2 separate regions of the Homo sapiens genome follow, and region 1 is linked to region 2. The links are contacts of gene promoters, found by promoter capture Hi-C in human tissues and cell types (Jung and others, 2019). All regions are on one chromosome and are shown on one strand. Each heading gives the region's core, a stretch centred on a gene start or on the middle of the fragment in contact. The rest is flanking DNA. Distances are from core to core; before and after follow the strand shown.

Evidence for each region. The method cuts DNA at HindIII sites, captures the fragments that hold promoters and counts their contacts. A contact is called where the count stands out against the background at its distance.
Region 1: a fragment that was not itself captured here is called in contact with the fragment with the promoter of LENEP in region 2 in 1 of the 25 tissues and cell types used here (H1 embryonic stem cells).

Annotation. Positions count from the first base shown.
Region 1 is chr1:154,764,034-154,769,833 of GRCh38, forward strand. The region is part of intron 3 of KCNN3 (potassium calcium-activated channel subfamily N member 3); the gene reads right to left. Among named protein-coding and RNA genes, the nearest start is that of KCNN3, 100 kb to the right of the region's middle. The HindIII fragment of the contact is 3,402 bases long and covers 1,514-4,915 here.
Region 2 is chr1:154,989,156-154,995,620 of GRCh38, forward strand. It overlaps LENEP (lens epithelial protein), which reads left to right and starts at 4,431. Exons shown (of 1, transcript NM_001394530.1): 1 at 4,431-5,160. The coding sequence starts at 4,453. The coding sequence ends at 4,638. It overlaps FLAD1 (flavin adenine dinucleotide synthetase 1), which reads left to right. Exons shown (of 7, transcript NM_025207.5): 3 at 405-552; 4 at 1,004-1,102; 5 at 1,184-1,373; 6 at 3,558-3,631; 7 at 3,747-3,956. The coding sequence ends at 3,882. The HindIII fragment of the contact is 8,242 bases long and covers 1-5,948 here.

The DNA.
Region 1 (5,800 bases), core at 1,965-4,464, 230 kb before region 2:
GATTTGTACTTACCTAATAAATCTTTGCTCTTCATTTATTTTTGGGTCCTTCTGTTCTAGGTACTTCTTTTGTAAATTGCATGCAATTAAATTTTGCTTTTAAATCTCATCTAAGAGACATTTACTTTTAACAAGGAGGTAAACACAATTATGTTGATTGTTATAAATTTTAAGTTTGTTTTTCTCTGATCTTCTTTCATACTTTGTATTGAAATTCTTCCTTCCTGCTTCCTTTATTTTTTCTGTCTTAGCTATGTGGGCTCTGATGTGGCATGGGAGGTATATGTTTTCAGGGTAGGGAAAAGGCTCTCAGGCTGGTGTTGGAGTCTCAAGTCTGCTGGCTCTGTGGCCTGAGGCACATCGCTCAACCTCTCTGTGTCTCAACATCCTCATATACAGAATGCAGATACAGTCTCATAGAACTATGGTATGGATTAAGTGAAACAATATATGGCTGATGCTACTGTTATTCTTGTTATACTCATAAAATTTTGCCTGTGGTTCCTTTAGGTTTTAAAAAAAATATTTCTCTGATTGCTAAAACTGAGTAATAGGGCTTTATTTTAAAATTCTCCTCTACATAGGACAACGCATCTGGCATGCTTTTACTAATCCCTTCTAGCCTTCTCCTCTCAAATTTTTAATCTGAGGATTTGCAACCCTCTAATTATTATTGAATTATTGCTTTAATTTCATACATCCACTCTTTCCAGAATCTACTTTTTCTTTGACATTAGAATTTGGAGTTTTGCAACTACGCGTAAGTTTAGTCTTGATTTCATGTTTGCCTGTGTGAACCAATGTCTGCCTTTCTTTACAACATTTCATTATTAAGATCTTAATTGTGATTCAGTCTTTGGTCAACTGGCAAACGAGTTCCCCCCAAAAGTAAACTCCAAGAATGACTTTTGTTGCCCTTTGGTTGCCTCATTCAAATGACAGGGTGGATCCAAATTTAAAATACTGTGGAACTGTTCTAATGACTCTGAATTTAGGGTTCCTGAGGGAGAGTCAGCTCTGGGATGCCTGTGTGCCTCTAGGATTGTTTCACCTTATGATTCAATAAATTTTCCAGAAAAAGAATGTATTGGGGTATGTCTAGGGGTGGCTCCTCCTGTCCCCCACATTCTAACTGGAAAAGAGGAATCCGTTTCGATCTGCCTACTCTGATCTACCATCCCCACACACAACATCCCCTTACCTAGGCCAATTCTGAAAATGTTTACTGTGCGTATATTTCTGATTATGCTTTTATCCAAATTTATCATTTCTTCCTCTGAAATAACTCTAATTCTTAGATTTCACCTGGATCCTATAGCCTCCAGTTCTGTCCTATTCATCCTTTCTCTTATCTCTTCTGCATTCTGAGAGAGCTTTAAATTTTTTAAGTTTGTCTCCACATTCCACATTTTTAAAAATGTAGTGCCATCAATGTGGATTTTCATTTTGCTAAAACAATTTTAGTTTTCTGGAACTCTGTGCTTATGTGAACCAGATACATTTTCATTTCACATCTGCCCACTCTTCTCTATCATAAGGATCATATATATTCTGGCACCCTATTAGAGATGCCCAAGACTCTTCTTTCTTTTTCCTTTTTTTTTTTTTTTTTTGAGACAGGGTCTCACTCTGTCACCCAGGCTGGAGTGCAGTGGCGCAATCTCTGCTCGCTGCACTCTTGACCTCCCAGGTTAGGTGATCCCCCCACCTCAGCCTCCTGAGTCTACAGATGCACCACCACTCCCGGCTAATGTTTTTTTTGGTTTTTTTTTGTTTTGTTTTGTTTTGTTTTTGGCAGAGATGGGTTTTTGCTGTGTTGGTCAGGCTGGTCTCCAACTCCTGACCTCAAGCGATCCACCTGCTTTGACCTCCCAAAGTGTTGGGATTACAGGCGTGAGCCACTGTGCCTGGCCACCCAAGACTCTTCTAATGTTGCTTTTTGTTTTTCATAATTAAACATTTTTCAGGAATCTTCAGGATTATTTTCCTCTTCCTTAATGCTGCAGGTTTTTCTCAAAGGCCTCCAGCAGGATCCCTGTCGCCTCCCCACCTTCCCCCTCCCCAGCCATCTATCTCTCCGCCTGGCACCAGAAGGGGATCGCTACAGGCTGCTCCTTCCCTACAGGAGGCTAACTTCTCACTTCTCCAGCTAGAGGGCAGGGTTCCTGGGTCTAGCAGGCTTCATCCCATGTGGTAGGCTACTTTCCTATCCTCTCTAACTAGTCCTCTGATATCATAAACCAGTGGTTTGCAAACTTTTAAAATCATGGGCTCCTACCAATTAAAAATTTTTTGAGCATGCCCTCCTCCATTATACATATATTTATTATAAATTACAGACATGTATTGCTCTCTATCCATTTATTAAATACTAGCCAGGCTTTATATATATATATATATATATATATATGTAGAAGTTCTGATCATTTCTCCCAATAGTCCCATGGATCACTGTGCGTGTGCCCCACATTGGAGGTTATAACTCAAACCAAAGCAGTCCATGAGGAACCACAGTGCCTGGCCCCACTGTTCCCAGGCTCTGCTCAGTTCTGCTCAGCCTACAGGGTTTAGCTTGCAGGCTTCCATCAACCCCATGTAGGGTGCTTCATCCCTGTAATGACCACTTTCCTACTGTTTTGTTTTGGGGTTTGTTTTTTTTTTTTTGAGATGGAGTCTGGCTCTGTCACCCAGGCTGGAGTGCAGTGGCGTGATCTCGGCTCACTGCAAGCTCCGCCTCCTGGGTTCACGCCATTCTCCTGTCCCAGCCTCCCGAGTAGCTGGGACTACAGGTGTGTGCCACCATGCCCGGCTAATTTTTTTGTATTTTTAGTAGAGACGGGGGTTTCACCGTGTTAGCCAGGATGGTCTCGATCTCCTGACCTCGTGATCTGCCCGCCTCGGCCTCCCAAAGTGCTGGGATTACAGGCGTGAGCCACCGAGCCTGGCCATTCCTACTGTTTTCTTGGAGTGGAAGTACCCCTTCTTGGAGGGGGTAGGAGGTTGTGGGAAGGAGATGGGAGGAGGAGGGAGCTGTGGTCTTGCTTCCTGCTGCTGGCAAGTGCAGGCCTGGGTGTCTGAGGCAGGGGCAGAAGAGAGTACAGCAAGGAAGCCTCTTTTTATCTCCTTACAATGGGAGTGGTGGCTCTCTTAATGAGAGAAAGAATGGGCCACAAATTGTTTTTCTCCTGCTTTAGGAGCCAGATCTCCAGAATAAAATTTCTCATTAAAATATCAGTATGCCAAAAGTTAACCAGCAAAATAAAAAACCTGTTGACAGACTGGAAGGCCTGGGACACTGAGACAGCCTGTTGCAGAATTTGGAGCCTCAGGAGGGACCAAAGTGAAGGGTCCAAAGGGTCCGAAGGGAATCCACTCAAGAGGACAGTAAGGTCATTTATAAAGCATGGCTGTGACAGCAAGGCTCACCCCACTTCATCAATGTTATGGGAGGCCTTGTTGCTCCTCCCAAGGAGATAAACATACAAAGGTGAGCTGGCAGGCCACTGCACTGCTCAAGGCACGCTAGGAAGGCTGGCTCTCCAACCTGCTGCCGCAGTGAGGACCCGGGGCCTCAGATGGTCTCTCCACCAGTAAAGCTGCTTGGCACTTGACAGTGTAAAATCAGGAGGTTCCTCCCTGAGGGAGGTGGGCAGGCAGCCAGGAGAATCCCAGAGAATGCAGAGTGCCACAACTGTCAGGCCTCGGAACCCATGATGTAATGCCTCTCTGGGGGCCAAGGAAAACAAGCCCACTGTTGTCACTGCCCTCCCAGCAACCAGGCGCTGCCCTCCCCATGGCACGGCTGTTCTGCGTAATTATGATCCCACTTTCTCTCCTTGGGAGGAGGAAATATGAAAAACCTTTGTTGTCACATAAAAACCAACCCAAGATATGAGAACTGTCTTTTAAAATACATCTTGCTGTAGAGAGATTTCCATAGCAACTTCAGAAGTGTGTGTATACAACTAGAGATAAGTCCAGGCTGATGAAAGCTACCTGGAATGTGAACAGGCTCTGGGCATCAGCAGCTGTGGATTTTTCTAGAACCTGTCATGCTGCTGTGTGACCCTGGGCAAGTCACTTACCCTCTCTGATGCCTAAGGTGATAGAATCATCATTAGATCAGGCTGAGAGAGATCAAGGCATCCTGTCCACACTACCCTGGTCTGACGCTTCAGTTCCCCAAAGCTTCCCCTGCTTCCAGCTTCTGTCCAGTCTCTGGCTGAATAAGTCCTGGCTGAAGGCCTCTGCCAATCTTACTTATTATTTGACATTGGGAAACAGAATGATCATTTAAGCTTGATTCTAAAAATAGTGCTTAGTCTTGGTAAGAGAAGTGCTTTGCCTGTTTAGGAAACAATATATTAACGGGGCAGATTCCTGGGAAACAGTCTGTGAGATGCTGAGATTTGGGGGTGGGAGTTTTACTGGGGCTGCTCTCAGGATCAATACCTCTGGGGTATAGAGGAAGTTCCCGGATGCAGTGGTAACAGAGGCCTTAGGCGATCCCTCAGGGACCCTGGAGCCTGGCTGAGTGTCCTACTAGAAGCAAACGGGGTTAGGCCTTTGAACTCCCACACTGACAAATCCCCTCGGGAGCTTGCTGCCCCCAGGCAAGGGGTTTGACCTGAAGAGAGGGACTCAGTCACAACCCCAGCTAAGGGAAGGAGAGCCCGGGTCCTGGAGGGGGCATCTGTCCCCTTCATGTTGACATGAAGCAACATGTCATCCACTACATGGATGTGTTTGAATTGGACATGAAGGCAGCCCAGGAGGCTAGTATGATAACATGGTCAAGACCATAGGCAGCAGAGGCAGAGAAAACAGCAAGACTGGGATTCACATGTTAGTCTCAGTGGCCTTAAGACTCTGAGATTGGGAAAGTTGCCAGTAGAGTAGAGGCCAAGATTTCCTCGTATGTGCAGGATTCAGCCTGGGTTGGTGACACACACATGGAAGTTCAGAGTCAGAAACCAGTTCAGATTTTGGCTCCACGCTTATTATTAATAGCTCTGTGACCTCGGGCCAGTTACTTTCTATCAGTTTCCTCAACTCTCCCATGAGCCTTCATGTCCAATTCAAACACATCCATGTAGTGGATGACATGTTGCTTCACCCAAATGCCCCTCCAGGACCCGGGCTCTCCTTCCCTCAGGCAAGGTACCTCTCTCATAGATCTATTGTGAGGGCAAGCTGGGATGACATATGGATTTTACACAGAACTAGCACAGGGGTGCAACAATAACATCCACCATGCTTTAATACACCTCATGTTATACCTAAGTCTTTGGTCAAATGGCCTTTTCGCAAGAGAAGGGAACTTTCAGAGAATTTCCGATTTGCTCATTGTTCCTCTGTGCCTTGGTCTTAGCGGGGGCTTGTGACCCATGTCTGCAGAGAGAGAGAGAGAGACCCAGTGGCCCACCAGGGACCAAACTAACCCAGCCTCAGCTTGGAAGCTATGGAAGGCCATGCAATATCAAATAAGGTGCATCATCTAAGTACTTTGCAAACTACATTCTTTAAAACAAGCTTATTTTCCAGTGAAAAATAGTCACCCCTTCTTGTGATAGGTTCAATAAACTACGAAACTCACTTGCAGGTACTTTGTTGCATGTTCAGCCATCTGAAATACATGCCAGAGAGCATCTGAGGAAGTGAAAGACTTCAAATAGCTTAAAGGGCTACGCAAATTCAATTACTATGTTAATAGACAACATGGCTTCCATCATTTAGAAAGGAAAACAGGAAGAGTATAGGCCCATGTATGGTACAAGTTGGGCTGTTCTAATTAAAAGAA
Region 2 (6,465 bases), core at 3,181-5,680:
ACAGCAGGGAGATCAGCCTTGATCTGGGGTCAGAGAAGGCCAAATGACATAAACTGAGTGATAAGGAGGATTTGATCAGTTCAGTAGGTGGGCAAGAGCCAACAGTATGAATGAGGGCCTGCAAGGAAGCAGCATGGGGTTAGGGAATGGAAGGAAGCCCACACCCCACACCCCCTGCTACAGAGGAATGACACTGAGGCTACTGTGAGGTGTGGCTGGGTGGCAGATGGCAGGGCAGGTCAGGGGCAGACTGCAGGGCCTAGCGGGCAGCATGAAGGAGTTTGGACTTTATCCTCAGAACACTGGGAAGATATTGAAGGGTTTAAGCAAGGGCAGCATGCCTTCACTCCCCTTTGATAGCCATATGTGTCCATCTGATGCCCTCTTCCCTGCCTGCTTGGCAGGGTCTTCTTTGGGGAAAAAGGTGGCAGGTGCCCTACAGACCATTGAGACCTCCCTGGCTCAGTACAGCCTCACCCAGCTCTGTGTGGGCTTCAACGGGGGCAAAGACTGCACTGCCCTCCTGCACCTCTTCCATGCAGCTGTGCAGAGGTGAGCCTGCCCCCGGGAGACAAGACCCCTGATCTGTTTCTCCAGTTCCACATCCCAGAAAGCAAGGAGAAAGGGGGTGTACAGGTGGAGTTCAAGAGGGAGATAGTCATGGTGACCTCTCAGTTCCATTCTCCCACCATATTGAGTATATGATATGTGCCTGGCCTTGTGTATGGATGTGCAGGCCACTATCCCTGACGACAGGGAGGTCACAGTCCTGCTGGGGAGATGAGAGATTTACATACCTGAACCAGGGATGCGTGCTTAGATTTGAGAGGTGAAAGGTCAGAGTGGGCTTCCCAGAGGAAGTGGGTCTAATGGATGGAAAGGACAAGGAAAAGGGAGAAGGGGTGAGAGTCTGTCCTAGGGGCCAACGAGAACAGTGAGCTGTTTCAGGGGAGCCATTTCCTTGTCCATGCTCACAAGCCTGTGGATTCTTCCCCCTCTGCAGGAAATTACCTGATGTTCCAAACCCCCTCCAGATCCTGTATATCCGCAGCATCTCCCCTTTCCCTGAGCTGGAACAGTTTCTACAGGACACTATCAAGAGGTACTAGGGGCCTGGAGGTTTGGGCTCCAAGAGAAGCTTGACAGAGCCCACGCCCGACCCCTACTTCTGTTTCTTCCTAAGGTATAATCTGCAGATGTTGGAAGCTGAGGGCAGCATGAAGCAGGCCCTGGGTGAACTGCAGGCACGGCACCCCCAGCTGGAGGCTGTCCTTATGGGCACCCGCCGGACTGACCCCTACTCCTGTAGCCTCTGCCCTTTCAGCCCCACTGACCCAGGCTGGCCCGCATTCATGCGCATCAACCCACTGCTGGTAATGGGGAAGAGGGTTTATCACCTTCAGTCTCACGTGCCCCAGCAGTCACTGCACCCTAGCTCACCTGCAGTAGTGGGGAGGCTAGAGCCTGGAACCTGGATGAAGGGGCCTCATCATCCAAGGGAGGCAGTGCTATCTGTTCATTCATCCTTTTGACCAATATTTATTGAGCCCAAATTCAATAGCAGGCATTGCACTTCCTACTGTGGATAGAATAGTGACTTAGACTTGTGCTGTCCAATATAGCCATTAATTATTTATTTATACTTAAATTTTAATTAATTAGAATGAAATACATATGACTAAAAACCACTGAATTATATACTTTAAAAGGATGAATTTGATGGTATGTGGATACCTCAATTTTTAAAATTAAGTACAATTAAAAATTCAGTTCTGGCTGGGCGCAGTGGCTCACGCCTGTAATCCCAGCACTTTGGGAGGCCATGGTGGGCAGATCACTTGAGGCCAGGAGTTCGAGACCAGCCTGGCCAACATGGCGAAACCCTGTCTCTACTAAAAATACAAAAAATTAGCCAGGCGTGGTGGCCTGTAGTCCTAGTTACTCGAGAGGCTGAGGCAGGAGAATTGCTTGAACCCAGGAGACGGAGGTTGCAGTGAGCTGAGATGGCACCACTGTACTCCAGCCTGGGCAACAGAACAAGACTCTGTCTCAAAAAAAAAAAAAAAAAAAATATATATATATATATGTATATATATATATACACACACACATACACAGGCCGGGCGTAGTGGCTTACACCTGTAATCCCTGCACTTTGGGAGGCTGAGGCAGGTGGATCGCCTGAGGTCAGGAGATCGAGACCAGCCTAACCAAAATGATGAAACCCAGTCTCTACTAAAAATACAAAAATTAGCGGAGCGTGGTGGCAGGCACCTGTAATCCCAACTACTCAGGAGGCTGAGGTAGGAGAATCACTTGAACCCAGGAGGCAGAGGTTGCAGTGAGCCAAGATGGCACCACTATACTCCAGCCTGAGCAACAGAGTGAGACTCCGTCCAAACAAACAAAAAAAAAATACAGTTATTCAGTTGTACTAGCCACATTTCAAATGACCACCATATTAGACAGTAGAGATACAGAACATTTCCATCATCACAGGAAGTTCTGGCCAGGCACAGTGGCTCACACCTGTAACCCCAGCACTCTGGGAGGCCGAGGTGGGCTGATCAATGCCTGTAGTCCCAGCTACTCAGGCTGAGGCGGGAAGATCGCTTGAGCCAGGGAAGTCGAGGCTGTAGTGAGCCATGATCATGCCAGTGCACTCCAGCCTGGGCAACAGTAAAGGCCCTGTCTAAAAAAAATAGGGCTGGGCACGGTGGCACACGCCTGTAATCCCAGCACTTTGGGAGGCCGAGGCAGGCACATCACGAGGTCAGGATTTCAAGACCAGCCTGACCAACATGGTGAAACCCCATCTCTACTAAAAAAATACAAAAATTAGCCGGCTGTGGTGGCGCATGCCTGTAATCCCAGCTACTCAGGAGGCTGAGGCAGGAGAATTGCTTAAATCTGGGAAGCGGAGGTTGCAGTGAGCCAAGATCGCGCCACTGCACTCCAGCCTGGGTGACAGAGCAAGACTCCGTCTCAAAAAAAAAAAAAAAAATAGGGCCGGGCATGGTGGCACACGCCTGTAATCCCAGCACTTTGGGAGGCCGTGGCGGGCGGATCATGAAGTCAGGAGATGGAGACCATCCTGGCTACACAGTGAAATCCCGTCTCTACTAAAAATACAAAAAATTAGCTGGGCACAGTGGTGGGCGCCTGTAGTGCCAGCTACTCGGGAGGCTGAGGCAGGAGAATGGCATGAACCCGGGAGGCAGAGGTTGCAGTGAGCCAAGACCACGCCACTGCACTCCAGCCTGGGCGACAGAGCCAGACTCCGTCTCAAAAAAAAAATAGACGGTTTCTCCCTGTCCTCAAGCTCCACCCTTGCACTAGAGGGTGGTTCAAGAATGGAAAGCAGAGAGTGGAGAAGATGAAGTCCTTCTCTTTCTCTTTGCATACATAGAGCAAGCTATACCAGAGAATCAGATAGCAAGCCCTCCCTCAGAGGCCAAGGGAGCAGAAGAGCCATGGATGGGCCCCTTCCCAGGACAGCAGGGGTAGAAGTGGGAAAGGTGAGCATTTGTGACTATTCTATTACTCTGACCTCCCAGGACTGGACCTACAGAGACATCTGGGATTTTCTGCGTCAGCTGTTTGTCCCATACTGTATCCTGTATGACCGAGGGTAAGGGTATTAGGGGAAGGGAATGGGTAAGGGAGTTTTTAGGGTGCTGGGATAGGGAGGGCCAATAGGATCGCCCACCCTACCACATGCTTGCCCTCCACCCTCCCTGCTCCAGATACACATCACTGGGGAGTCGGGAGAATACCGTGCGGAACCCGGCCCTGAAGTGCCTGAGCCCAGGAGGACACCCCACATACCGTCCAGCCTATCTACTGGAGAACGAAGAAGAGGAGCGGAACTCCCGCACATGACCTCCCACCCTAGGAGGGAGGGAAGGACACCGTCCTAGGGTATAACCTGGCAATAAACCGTGCCTCTCACTGTGCCTGTTGCTCTAGCTGTGTCTTCCTGCTCCAGAGGATGGGAGAAGCAGAAGTGGGTCAAATGCTGCCAGCTCTGACTGGCTGTGCTCACTCTAAGGGGCCCAGGGGCAGGGCAGAACAGGCTGGAAAGGAGCTCTCACTGATGGTTCTCAATGTCAGCCTCAGCAGGAGCCCACCAGAGGGCGAAAGCAGGAGTTGTGCCAACCACTGGGAAAAGGGCAATCAGGCAGGGCACCACCTGGGCTGGAAGAGGGGAAGCTGCCTTGGCCTAGCTGTGGAGGATGAAAGATGGAGTGGCCAGGCCCTCCCTCCCACTAACCCCACCCTCCCATCCCTGTCTAGAGGGGCTGACTCAGCCTGTTCCCAGGCCTAGAACCTTCCCTTTGCTAGACCCTGGATCCTTTGTCTCTGTAGTCATGAGGCTGAAGGGGGTGGGGACAGTGTTGATAAAAGGCACTAGAGGCAGCTCCCACACCCTTCCTCGGAACTGTTGCCCACATGCAGCCCCGGACACAGCCCCTAGCCCAAACCCTACCCTTCTTCCTCGGAGGGGCCCCTCGAGACACTGGGCTGCGGGTGCCTGTCATTAAGATGGGCACAGGGTGGGAGGGCTTCCAGCGGACCCTGAAGGAAGTCGCCTACATCCTCCTCTGCTGCTGGTGTATCAAGGAACTGCTGGATTAATGGTAGCAGGGAACTGCCTCCTCTCCCCACCAGCACCATGGCTGGCATCGCTCAGGTGGGCAGGGTAGAGTAAACAGGAGGCATAGCTGCAGCTTCTGTGGCAGAGCTTGCCTTAGCTTCTCATTCTCTTCTTTAGCCCCCAGCCCAATTGCCATCAAGACTCCTGAAGCCAGCTGTGCTTGACCAAGGATGGGCCATAAACAATGAGTAAACAGTAAAGTGTGGATCCTGCTTTGAGCTGTGTCATCTAGCAGACCTGCCTCATCTCTGAGCCTCCTTCATTCCCAACCCCTGCCTCTGGTGGACCTCTGGTGGGCAGGAGCTTGGACTGCTCTGGCTAGGACCCCAGTAAGATTGTGGCAAGACCTGGCACTCCTCCAAGCTTGGCACAGTGAGCCCACCAGCTCAGATGGTTGATCTTACCATACCCTCATAGTACCAAGAATGGACTGCCCCCTAAGAAACCTGTTTGAGAATCACTGAATTATAAATATAATCCATAGGCCTTGAGGCCCAAGATTATAAGTGTCTAAAGGGGAATCAGAAAAAGTCAGCACTAGAACGGTCTGGGAGCAAGGGTGCAGACCAGGGAGGGAAGGAGCTTGTCCTGAATAGAACCAAGATTGAAAGCCAGGTTTTCTGACTCACTGGTTCCTGAGTGGGGAGGGTGGAAGACAGTTCAGGTTCCTCTCAATCTGTGGGTAAGGAGGGGACCCAGCTTGAGTAGGGTCTTCATCTGTGAGGCCAAGGGTGTGTGGAAACCCAGAGGACCCAGCCCTTTCCCAAATAGAAGACCTGGTCCAGGCAGCTTCCTGCCTCTGAGGATCTTGGGGAAAGCACTGCGCTGAGGCTAGTCCCCAGCTCATCAAGGAAGTAGGACCCCATGAGCTACAAGAGCTCCCAGCTCACATACAAAGTTACCAGAGAAAGACACCTGTGTGGCCACACAGGTCCCTCAGGCTTATCATGACACAGCCCTATCAGGACATAAACAGCTAGATTGAGCAGAATTGGCTCTTTACTTCCTCTTGGTAGCCACAGCTGGTATTTTCCATGAGTTACTCCCGGTGGTAGATATACACCAGCCATGTGTATCGTCTTGCTCAGGGGGTGCTTATGCTTACTGATCTGCCCACCCACAGCCCCCCAAACCTCAGAGCCAGCCTGTTTGGGACTGTTCAGTATTTCCCTGGGATTCCCATCCAGCATTCTCTGGCCCCTCCTGGGGGGCCAGTTATCATCCCCCAGCCCTTTGTCACTTGGGGCACTGGCCTGGAGATTATAGATAGTGCCCTCTTCCTCCCTGCCTGGGACCAGCTCTTCCTCAGCCTTCTTCTTAGTTAACTCTTTTTTTTTTCTAGATTCTTTTTGTAAAGGTGATATATGCCCAGAGTAAAGAACTTTAGGCCAGGCCAGGTACAGTGGCTCACACCTGTAATCCCAGCACTTTGGGAGGCAGAGGCGGGCAGATCACCTGAGGTCAGGAGTTCTAGACCAGCCTGGCCAACATGGTGAAACTGCATCTCTACTAAAAATAATTAGCTGGGCGAGGTGGTGAGTGCCTGTAATCCCAGCTACTTGGGAGGCTGAGACAGGAGAATCACTTGAACCCGGGAGGCAGAGTTTGCGGTGAGCTGAGATCATGCCACTGCGCTCCAGCCTGGGGGACAAGAATGAAACTCTGTCTCAAAAAAAAAAAAAAAAAAAAAGGCCGGGCGCGGTGGCTCACATCTGTAATCCCAGCACTTTGGGACAAGGCCGAGGTGGGTGGATCACTTGAGGTCAGGAGTTCGAGACCAGCCTGGCCAGCATGGTGAAACCCCATCT